Linked DNA regions of Homo sapiens: regions 1 and 2 are each linked to region 3. The links are contacts of gene promoters, found by promoter capture Hi-C in blood cells and fetal thymus (Javierre and others, 2016). All regions are on one chromosome and are shown on one strand. The core of a region is centred on a gene start or on the middle of the fragment in contact, and the rest is flanking DNA. Distances in the headings are between cores, read along the strand shown. Region 1 has its middle 16 kb from the start of DEFB136. Region 2 overlaps DEFB134 (defensin beta 134). Region 3 holds the start of SLC35G5 (solute carrier family 35 member G5).

What was found. The method cuts DNA at HindIII sites, captures the fragments that hold promoters and counts their contacts. A CHiCAGO score of 5 or more calls a contact.
Region 1: a contact is called between a fragment that was not itself captured here and the fragment with the promoter of SLC35G5 in region 3, in 2 of 17 cell types (naive B cells and total B cells). The highest score is 7.0, in naive B cells.
Region 2: a contact is called between a fragment that was not itself captured here and the fragment with the promoter of SLC35G5 in region 3, in 4 of 17 cell types (naive B cells, total B cells, M2 macrophages and 1 more). The highest score is 10.0, in naive B cells.

The regions. Positions count from the first base shown.
Region 1 is chr8:11,956,918-11,960,473 of GRCh38, forward strand. No RefSeq gene overlaps it. Among named protein-coding and RNA genes, the nearest start is that of DEFB136, 16 kb to the right of the region's middle. RefSeq lists enhancers at 221-738, 739-1,254. The HindIII fragment of the contact is 4,870 bases long and covers 1-3,556 here.
Region 2 is chr8:11,993,904-11,997,630 of GRCh38, forward strand. DEFB134 (defensin beta 134) reads right to left here. Exons shown (of 3, transcript NM_001302695.2): 2 at 2,291-2,395; 3 at 1-219. The coding sequence starts at 2,348. The coding sequence ends at 77. It also overlaps the pseudogene OR7E160P. Among named protein-coding and RNA genes, the nearest start is that of DEFB134, 5.0 kb to the right of the region's middle. The HindIII fragment of the contact is 1,515 bases long and covers 571-2,085 here.
Region 3 is chr8:11,329,304-11,332,606 of GRCh38, forward strand. SLC35G5 (solute carrier family 35 member G5) reads left to right here and starts at 1,709. Exons shown (of 1, transcript NM_054028.2): 1 at 1,709-3,057. The coding sequence starts at 1,804. The coding sequence ends at 2,820. It also overlaps a transcript of MTMR9 not described here. The HindIII fragment of the contact is 5,485 bases long and covers 1-3,303 here.

The DNA of each region.
Region 1 (3,556 bases), core at 521-3,020, 630 kb after region 3:
TTGTATTTTTAGTGTGGGGTTTCACCATGTTGGCCAGGCTGGTCTTGAACTCCTGACCTCAAGTGATCTGCCCACCTCTGCCTCCCAAAGTGCTGGGATTACAGGTGTGAGCCACTGCACCTGGCCCCAGTTATGTTTTTATTTTTTAAAGAGATGTGCGGGTGGGGGGAGGGTCTCTCTATGTTGCCCAGGCTGGCCTCGAACTCCTAGATTAAAGTGATCTGCTCGCCTCAGCCTCCCAAATTGCTTGGATTACAGCCGTGAGCCACTGGGCCAGCACGGTGCTGTTCTCTTCACTGATTATTATTAATATTTTTGTTTTGCCTCCACCTCCCTTGTTTTCCAAATTTGTGTCTTTCCTTTTATATACATTTTGAATGTACAACTTTTTACAGAATTAAACCCAATTGATACATCTTATCAACTTATCTTTGCTAAGGATTTCCACTTTCTAAGTGGTCAGAAACTGATTTCCACCCATCGTTTTTGCCAACTTCCTTCCTTAAATGCACATGGTGTAGTGCATGGGGCACTGGGCTGCCCCTCCGCAGACCTGGGATCCAGTGCGGTTTCTGGCCTCCCTCACAGTGTGGTCCTGACAATGTTCCTTTGCCTCTCCGAGCCTCAGTTTACTCATCTTCAGAGGTGATTTCCAAGGGCCTTGCCAGATCCATCTCCAGGCATGTGTGTGTGTGTTTGCAGGCGAAGGAGCTGTCATGGGCAGCTTGGCCTTCTGGCAGCTGTCTCATGGGCCCACAGCAGGGGCTGCTTTCCTGCGTCAGACCCAGCAGTGGCAGGAGGGTCTCCCCTGGGACGGCCTCACCCAGTGCGCAGCCTCCCGCTATCCCACCATTAGGCCACTCACTGCTGTGCTCCTTGGTTTGAATGTTTATTTGGGCCCTAGCTCCCCCTTGCTGCGAGAGGAAGGCCACAGCTGTAACCTCGTGTGCCTTTATTGCTGTAAACTGTCACGTTCTGCAAACAGGTCACAGAGAATTTGGAGAGTGGACATTCTTGTAGAGAAATTATGCAAAGAGAGGCTTTGCCTTCATTAATCTACTTTGCATTTATTTATTTATTTATTTGAGACGAGTCTCGCTCTGTTGCCCAGGCTGGAGTGCAATGGTACGATCTCGGCTCACTGCAACCTTCGCCTCCTGGGTTCAAGCGATTCTCCTGCCTCAGCCTCCCAACCAAGTAGCTGGGATTACAGGTGTAGGCCACCACGCCCAGCTAATTTTTGTATTTTTAGTAGAGACAGGGTTTCACCATGTTGGCCAGGCTGGTCTTGAACCCTTGACCTCAGGCGATCCACCTGCCTCAGCCTCCCAAAATGCTGCGATTACAGGCACAAGCCACCGTGCCCAACCCATTAATCTACTTTGCTTTTCAATTTTGTGTTATTGTTATTATTTTTGATAGAAATGATAACAGGAGGTGTAAGCACATGATGATGAGCGCCACCTTGGGGTTGGGGTTGGGTAAAGAAAGGCCTGATTTATTTATTTATTGAGACGCAGTTTCACTCTTGTTGCCCAGGCTGGAGGGCAATTGCGCGATCTCAGCTCACTGCAACCTCCGCCTCCCAGGTTCAAGCGATTCCCCTGCTTCAGCCTCCCGAGTAGCTGGGATTACAGGCATGTGCCACCAGGCCTGGCTAATTTTGTATTTTTAGTAGAGACGGGGTTTGTCCATGTTGGTCAGGCTGGTCTCGAACTCCCAACCTCAGGTGATATGCCCACCTCGGCCTCCCAAAGTGCTGGGATTTCAGGCATGAGCCACCGTGCCCGGCCTATTTTTTTTTATTTTTTACTTTTAATTGTGCTGCAAAACATATAACATGAAATTTATCTTCATAACCACTTTTGAGAGTACGGTTCAGTCGTGTTACATAGACACACATTGTTATGCAATAGGCCTCTAGAACTTTAACTTACAAACAAAAACTGTGTCTGCTTTGCTTGTTATTGAATGCTGACTCTATCCGAAGCATTGTGCTGACCACGAGGACCAAAAAGAAAAGGAAGCAATTGATCGCCAAGCAGAACTTCAGAAAAGATACAGAACTCTCTCAGCTTGTCCACCCCCAACTCCCACCGACACTGAGCAGGCAGGAGAGGTGGCACAGCAGGCAAAGTCTGCCACCTGGTGGCAGGAAAGAGTCACAGTCCACAAGGGAGGCTTCCAGTGGATCCCACAAAAGAAGTGGGGAACAGGAAAGCGGAAGAAGACATTTAGTGCCAGGTATGCAAAACAGCAGGAACTGTTGGATAAATGGAAGTGAAAAAATATTTTTCGCCGGGCACGGTGGCTCACGCCTGTAATCCCAGCACTTTGGGAAGCCGAGGCAGGTGGATCACCTGATGTCAAGAGTTCAAGACCAGCCTGGCCAACATGGTGAAACCTCGTCTTTACTAAAAGTACAAAAAAAATTAGCTGGGCGTGGTGGCGCATGCCTGTAGCCCCAGCTACTCAGGGAGGCTGAGGCAGGACAATCGCTTGCACCCAGGAGGTGGAGGTTGCAGTGAGCCAAGATTGCGCCACTGCACTCCAGCCTGGGCGACAGAGGGAGACTCTGTCTCAAAACGACAACAACAAAAATTTTTAAAGAGACACATTTGGATAATTTTAAAATTATTTTTTGTTTCGCAGGGCATGGTGGCTCACGCCTGTAATTCCAGCACTTCAGGAGGCCGAGACAGGTGGATCACCTGAGGTCAGGAGTTTGAAAGCAGCCTGGCTAACAGGGAGAAATCTTATCTCTATAAAATATACAAAAATTAACCGGGTGTAGTGGCATGCTACTCGTGCTGGAATCACAGATATGTGCCACCGTGCCCTGCCAAACAAAAAATAATTTTAAAAGGCTGAGGCATGAGAATCATTTGAGCTGGGAGGCTGAGGTTGCAGCAAGCCAAGATCGCACCACTGCACTCCACTCTGGGCGACAAAGGGAACCTCTGTCTCAAACAAGACAAAACAAAACCCATGAAAAAACAATGAGATACCACTACACACCCACCAGAAGGTGAAAATGTAGAAGACAGACAATGCTGAGTGTTTGTGAAGATGTGTGGCAAATGGAGCTCTCCCTCTTTGCTGATGAGAATTAAATTGGTGCGAACAACTTGGAAACTTCAGGTATTTACTAAGAAATCAGTGCATGTATTTAAAAAAAATACGTGTACAAAAAGGTTTATAGCAGCTTTTTTTTTTTTTTTTTTCCTGGCAGAGTTTTGCTCTTGTTGCCCAGGCTGGAGTGCAATGGCATGATCTTGGCTCACTGCAGCCTCCACTTCCTTGGTTCAAGCAATCCTCCTGCCTCAGCCTCCCAAGTAGCTGGGACTACAGGCGCCCGCCACCACACCCAGCTAATTTTTTTGTATTTTTAGTAGAGACGGTGTTTCACCATGTTGGCTAGGCTGGTCTTGAACTCCTGACCTCAGGTGACCCACCCACTTTGGGCTCCTAAAGTGCTGGGATTACAGGCATGAGCCACCGCCCCCTGCCAATAGCTCTATTTTTAATAACCAAAAAGTGGAGGCAAGCCAAATGC
Region 2 (3,727 bases), core at 78-2,577, 660 kb after region 3:
TCTAAATTCCCTGGTTTTGTGAAAGATGGCAGAATCAAGGGCCTACAGGATAGTGGCCATTCATTGGTTTCTTATGTCAGGGTGCAGGATTTCCTTTGACACAGCACTCCAGCTGAAACATACAGTAGGCAACTAACATTTCACTCTCATAGCATTCAAGTCTGCAGATGCCATTTTTATAGCATTTCTTGTGCATTTCTGATGATAATGAATTTATACCTGGAAGGAAAATGAATAGAAAGATAATTCACTACAGGCCTTTTTGGACCATAAAATTGCTAGTCCCTCAATTTTTATCCAACCGGATACCAAGGAGATTTGGTTATGATAATTGATCCTGTAACTGAAAAAATTAATTAGTGGTAGGGGCTGAATTGTGTCACCCCAAAATTCATATGCTGAAACCCTCACCCCTGATGTGACTGTCTTTAGAGATAGGGCCTTCAGGAAGTAATATAAGTTAAATGAGGTCATGATGGTGGAACCCTAATCCAATAAGATTGATAGGCTAATCCAATAGGATTGATGGTCTTATTAGTGAAGGTCACGGCAAAAAGATGGCCATCTACAAGCTTGAAAGCAAGCTCTCATCAGAAATTGAATCAGCTAGCACCTTGATCTTGGATTTCTCATCTTCTGGAACTATGAGAAAATAAAGTTTGTCTAAGCCACAGTGTGCGGAATTTTGTTATCGCAGCCCAAGCTGACTAAAACAAGTAATAATTTGGAAGTTTCCCTGAATTTGTCAATGAATATAACCCAAACAATCAAGCTAGCTATTCACATAGTCATTCATTCATTATTTTTTAAATAATTACTTACTCATTATTATTCATAAACCAATTTTTATAAATCCTGTGAATCAAGGACTGTTGGGGTACAGATTTGAGTATGATATAGACCTTAACCTCAATGAATTTTCATTCTAGACAAAAAGAGAAGAAATACAAAATATCTCTGAGAGAGGAAAAAACATGACAAGTGCAATGATGTATTTGCAATGTGGAACGGTCTTGTGAGTTTGAAGGAGGATGAAATCAATTCTGAAGATTTGAGAAGTCTTATTGAAGCTCAAGGAATCTGTAGAAATTTTGAGCAAACACATACCCTATCTGAGTCATAATGCCCTGGAGGATAATTGTCCTACATGAACAAGAAGGGATCAGTGTTACTTAGTTTGCAAGACAGAAGCCCTAGAGGACAATCTGTAACACTTTTGGGAAGATGAAATATAATGGTCTATAAAATGAGACAAGAACTTTCAATGGAAATGACAAGTTATGAGAATGCAAAAGGAATTGAAGGGAATATTGTACACTATATGGGGTTCTTTGTCTGGAGGCCACAAATCCATTGCCATAAACCGTAATGGAATTGGTTGCATCAGCAGCTTTAAGAGGCCTTGATCCCATGAATTCTTAAATTTAGCCTGGTGAGTCACATAATCTGAAGATGTGATTCATTTGCCTGGAGAATACTTCAGGCAAACACTTCAGTCCATCTAGGCAGATGAACCAATCTGACTGGACTGATTCAGTAACACTGAGTGAAAAGAATTTTCCAGATGAGATTGCTAAAGTCGGAAAGGATATGGTGAAGCTAGAGCACAGGGCCACTCACACTCTCTGTCATGTCTCCCTGGCTGCTATCTCATCTGATCAGGCATTTCTTCTATCACATAAAGCTCAGTGATTCTCTTGAAACTAGCCGTTCTAAATCTGTTTCCTCATGTAACTAATGGATTCACAAATAGTAAATTAACTGTAGGAAACTGCAGTATATTAGAAAATTAACAAATTGTGTTGTCACTATTTTCTGGTTTTGACTATTATACTTAGATACATTCTTGAATTAGAGACAAAATAACAGCAGGAAGACAGGATGGGCATTACTAATGAAAATACAATGATAGCTCTCATGAGCCAGGTACTTTTCATATTATGTATGGACATATTCCATACATGATCTGATTTAATCCTTGTGAGACTCTTCATTTCCATATTTCCATTTTTCAAATGAAGAAACTAAGGCTCATTGGTGCGGATCAGTTCAGCCAAAAAAAAAAAGGAAACTAAGGCTCAGAGAAGCTTAGACCTTTGTCCAAAGTTATATAGTTAACAAGTTGGACAGCCAGATTCAAGCCCAGGTCTTGCTGACATCAAAACTAGTTGATGCTTTTTTCTAGCTTGAAAATTAAAGGGCCCATGGGTGGTGTATGTTTATTGGGTTGTTTAGTGGCATTGTTCTTCTATATGAAGCACCCCTACCCCCCAAAATATGCCAGTTTTACCTGCCAGCACTGGATCCCAAAGGAAAAGAAAGACAAACACAACAAGGAGAGGCTTCATGGCTGGGAACTTCTGTTAAGGAGGCTAGTGGCAGGGTCTGACATCGGCTGTCAGGGAACAGAGAGAAGAGGTTGAGCACACAGTCCTATACAAACCTCTCAGGGCTGGGGTATGCCTCGCTTCAGGTAGATATGCTACACTGAACACCCCTGAGGCAGCCGTGTTGGCAATGCTCATCTGAGGAAAAAAAATGGACAGCCCTTTCTTGTTTGACAGCTTTTCCTATTGACAAAGACACTGTTCTCCCACCCAGGTTTTCCAAAAGTACATGGAGGCCTGAGAACTATGTGCTCTTACTCTTTTAAATGAGTAAAATTAAAATTTGATAGGCTTTTGTTCCAATAAAAATGTAATTGCTAATTTTAGAAAATTGGTAAAATATTAAACATGACAAGGATGGACAAGTTACAGATGAACTGCTCTTCTCAGAGACAAACTGTCATTCTAAAGAAAGTTTCATTTATGCCTAGTTTGTTGTTTAATATTTTGTTTTACATAGCTATAAACAATATTCTTATAATTAGGTATCCTGCTTTTGTAACTTGATATATACTATATATCAGTGTCACTATAAACTTCATAAATAGTATTTTTAAGTGTTGCACAATATTTTGTCAAGGTCATTTAAAATAATTGTTACTATTTAAAAAAACATTTTTTATTGAAGTATAAGTGACATACAATAAACTTCAAACAGTAAAGTGTACAATCGGATAAGTTTTGCCATATCTATACGTTTGTGAGACCATTGTCACATTCAAAATAATGAACATATCCATTCCCCCTAACATTTTTTCATGCCTTCTGTAATATTCCCCTCCTGATTCTCTTTCACCTCTCAGTCTAAAGGCCACAACTTTTCTGCTGACACTATAGATTACTTTGTATTTTCTTGGAATTTCATGTGAATAGAATAATATATTCTATACTCTTTCTTGTTGGGTTTCTTTTACTCAGCATAATTATTTGAGATTCGTCCTTGCTATAATATGAATTAGTTGTTCATTCCTTTTCATTGCTGAGCACCACTGCATGGCTATACATCTATGTGTTTATCCAGTCACGTATTGATTGATGTTTGATTATTTCCAGTTTTTGGCTATTGAAAATAAAGCTGCTATGGACATTCATGTACAAGTCATGGTATGGATATATGCTTTCATTTTTCTTTTGCAAATATTCAGGAGTAGAAAGGCTGGGCCACAGCTGTATGTTGTCATCAAGAGATCTCACACGCAATGACATTCATAGCCTCAAAGGAAAGGGATGGAGAAAGATCTAGCAAGCAAATGGAAAAGAAAAAGAACAGTGGTTGCTATTCTTATTTCAGACAAAACAGACTAAAAGCAACAATGATCAAAAAGGACAAAGAAAGGCAT
Region 3 (3,303 bases), core at 459-2,958:
GATCACTTGAGCCCAGGAGTTCCCTCTCCCTCTCTTTCCATGGTCTCCCTCTGATGCCGAGCCAAAGCTGGACTGTACTGCTGCCATCTCGGCTCACTGCAACCTCCCTGCCTGATTCTCCTGCCTCAGCCTGCCGAGTGCCTGCCATTGCAGGCTCGCGCCGCCACGCCTGACTGGTTTTCGTATTTTTTTGGTGGAGACAGGGTTTCGCTGTGTTGGCCGGGCTGGTATCCAGCTCCTAACCGCGAGTGATCCGCCAGCCTCGGCCTCCTGAGGTGCCGGGATTGTAGACGGAGTCTGGTTCACTCAGTGCTCAATGTTGCCCAGGCTGGAGTGCAGTGGCGTGATCTCGGCTCGCTACAACCTCCACCTCCCAGCCGCCTGCCTTGGCCTCCCAAAGTGCTGAGATTGCAGCCTCTGCCCGGCCGCCACCCCGTCTGGGAAGGGAGGAGCGTCTCCGCCTGGCCACCCATCGTCTGGGATGTGAGGAGCCCCTCTGCCCGGCTGCCCAGTCTGGGAAGTGAGGAGCGCCTCTTCCTGGCCGCCATCCCGTCTAGGAAGTGAGGAGCGTCTCTGCCCAGCTGCCCATCATCTGAGATGTGGGGAGCGCCTCTGCCCGGCTGCGACCCCGTCTGGGAGGTGAGAAGCGTCTCTGCCCGGCCGCCCTGTCTGAGAAGTGAGGAGCCCCTCCGCCTGGCAGCTGCCCCGTCTGGGAAGTGAGGAGCACCCCGCCCGGCAGCCGCCCCGTCTGGGAAGTGAGGAGCGTCTCCGCCTGGCAGCCGCCCCATCCGGGAGGGAGGTGGGAGGTCAGCCCCCGCCCGGCCAGCAGCCCCGTCCGGGAGGGAGGTCGGGGATCAGCCCCCGCCCGGCCAGCCGCCCCGTCCGGGAGGGAGGTGGGGGGTCAGCCGCGGCCTGGCCAGCCGCCCCGTCCGGGAGGGAGGTGGAGGGTCAGCCCCCCACCGGCCAGCCGCCCTGTCCGGGAGGGAGGTGGGGGGTCAGCCCCCACCCGGCCAGCTGCCCCGTCTGGGAGGGAGGTGGGGGGCGCCTCTGCCCGGCTGCCCCTTCTGGGAAGTGAGGAGCCCCTCTGCCCGGCCACCACCCCGTCTGGGAGGTGTACCCAACAGCTCATTGAGAACGGGCCATGATGACGATGGCGGTTTTGTGGAATAGAAAAGGGGGAAAGGTGGGGAAAAGATAGAGAAATCAGATTGTTGCTGTGTCTGTGTAGAAAGAAGTAGACATGGGAGACTTCATTTTGTTCTGTACTGGGAGGGGTTCTTCTGCCTTGGGATACTGTTGATCTGTGACCTTGACCCCAGCCCTGTGCTCTCTGGGGCATGTGCTGTGTCCACTCAGGGTTAAATGGATTAAGGGCGGTGCAAGATGTGCTTTGTTAAACAGATACTTGAAGACAGCATGCTCGTTAAGAGTCATCACCACTCCCTAATCTCAAGTACCCAGGGACACAAACACTGCGGAAGGCCGCAGGGTCCTCTGCCTAGGAAAACCAGAGACCTTTGTTCACTTGTTTATCTGCTGACCTTCCCTCCACTATTGTCCTATGACCCTGCCAAATCCCCCTCTGCGAGAAACACCCAAGAATGATCAATTAAAAAAAAAAAAAAGAAAGAAAGAAAGAAAGAAAAGAAGCAGAGTTGGACTCAGCGGGAAAATAGGCGTGCTACCACCTCAGGAGAGTTCCAGGGAAGAACCCCACCCGCACTCCAATGAGGTCACAATGGCTGGAGCTCTGAGGGGCCCAGGCTCCCTGAGCCAGGAGGAGAGGAGAAAGTCCAAGGAAAGATGGCTGGCAGTCACCCCTACTTCAACCTGCCTGACTCCACACACCCATCGCCGCCCTCCGCTCCACCCAGCCTCCGCTGGCACCAGCGCTGCCAGCCCTCTGGTGCCACCAATGGCCTGCTGGTGGCCCTGCTGGGTGGGGGCCTGCCTGCTGGCTTCGTGGGCCCCCTTTCTCGTATGGCTTACCAGGGTTCCAACCTGCCCTCGCTGGAGCTGCTCATCTGTCGATGCCTCTTCCACCTCCCTATTGCCCTGCTACTTAAACTGCGTGGCGACCCCCTTCTGGGACCTCCTGACATCCGAGGCTGGGCCTGCTTCTGTGCCCTGCTCAACGTCCTCAGCATTGGATGTGCCTACAGTGCAGTTCAGGTGGTGCCCGCTGGCAACGCTGCCACTGTTCGCAAAGGTTCTTCCACCGTATGCTCCGCTGTCCTCACCCTCTGCCTTGAGAGCCAGGGTCTCGGTGGCTACGAGTGGTGTGGACTGTTGGGCAGCATCCTAGGACTAATCATCATTCTGGGACCTGGACTCTGGACACTACAGGAGGGGACCACAGGTGTCTACACCACCCTGGGCTATGTGCAGGCTTTCCTGGGAGGCCTGGCGCTGTCCCTGGGGCTTCTGGTCTATCGTTCTCTGCACTTTCCCTCCTGCCTCCCAACAGTGGCCTTCCTATCTGGCTTGGTGGGGCTGCTGGGCTGTGTGCCAGGCCTCTTTGTGCTGCAGACCCCCGTGTTGCCCAGTGACCTCCTGAGTTGGAGTTGTGTGGGGGCAGAGGGGATCCTCGCCTTGGTCTCCTTCACATGTGTGGGCTATGCGGTCACCAAGGCCCACCCTGCCCTGGTGTGCGCTGTCCTGCATTCCGAGGTGGTTGTGGCCCTTATACTGCAGTATTATATGCTCCATGAGACTGTGGCACTTTCTGACATCATGGGGGCAGGGGTTGTGCTGGGCAGCATTGCCATCATTACAGCCCGGAACCTCAGCTGTGAGAGGACAGGGAAGGTGGAGGAGTGAGATAGAACTTGGGAGCCCGGGGGTTGGGAGGGACAGGGATAAATAAAGACAAAGACTGAAGACAAAAAAAAAATAAAAGAAAAAAAATAATTATAATAAATCCTAGGAAAGAGTGAAAGTCTAACTTCCATAGCACATTATAATATTGAGATGTTCAGTTATAATAAAAATATCACAAAGCATGCAAACAAATGAGAAATCTGGCTTATTTACAGGAATAAAATTAATTGAACTATCCTTAAGGAATCCCAGACTTTGGACTTACTAGACAAAGACTAAACAATTGTCTTAAATATGCACAAGAGTTAAAAGACAACTAAATGAAATCAGAGAAATGATGTTTGAACAAAATGAGAATATCAATAAAAATATAAAAATTATAGAAAGGAACCAGGTAGAAATTTTGTAGCTGAAACGTGCGACAACTGAGATGAGAAATTCACTAGAAGGGTTCGATAGAGTTTGTTTGTTTTTTGTTTTTTG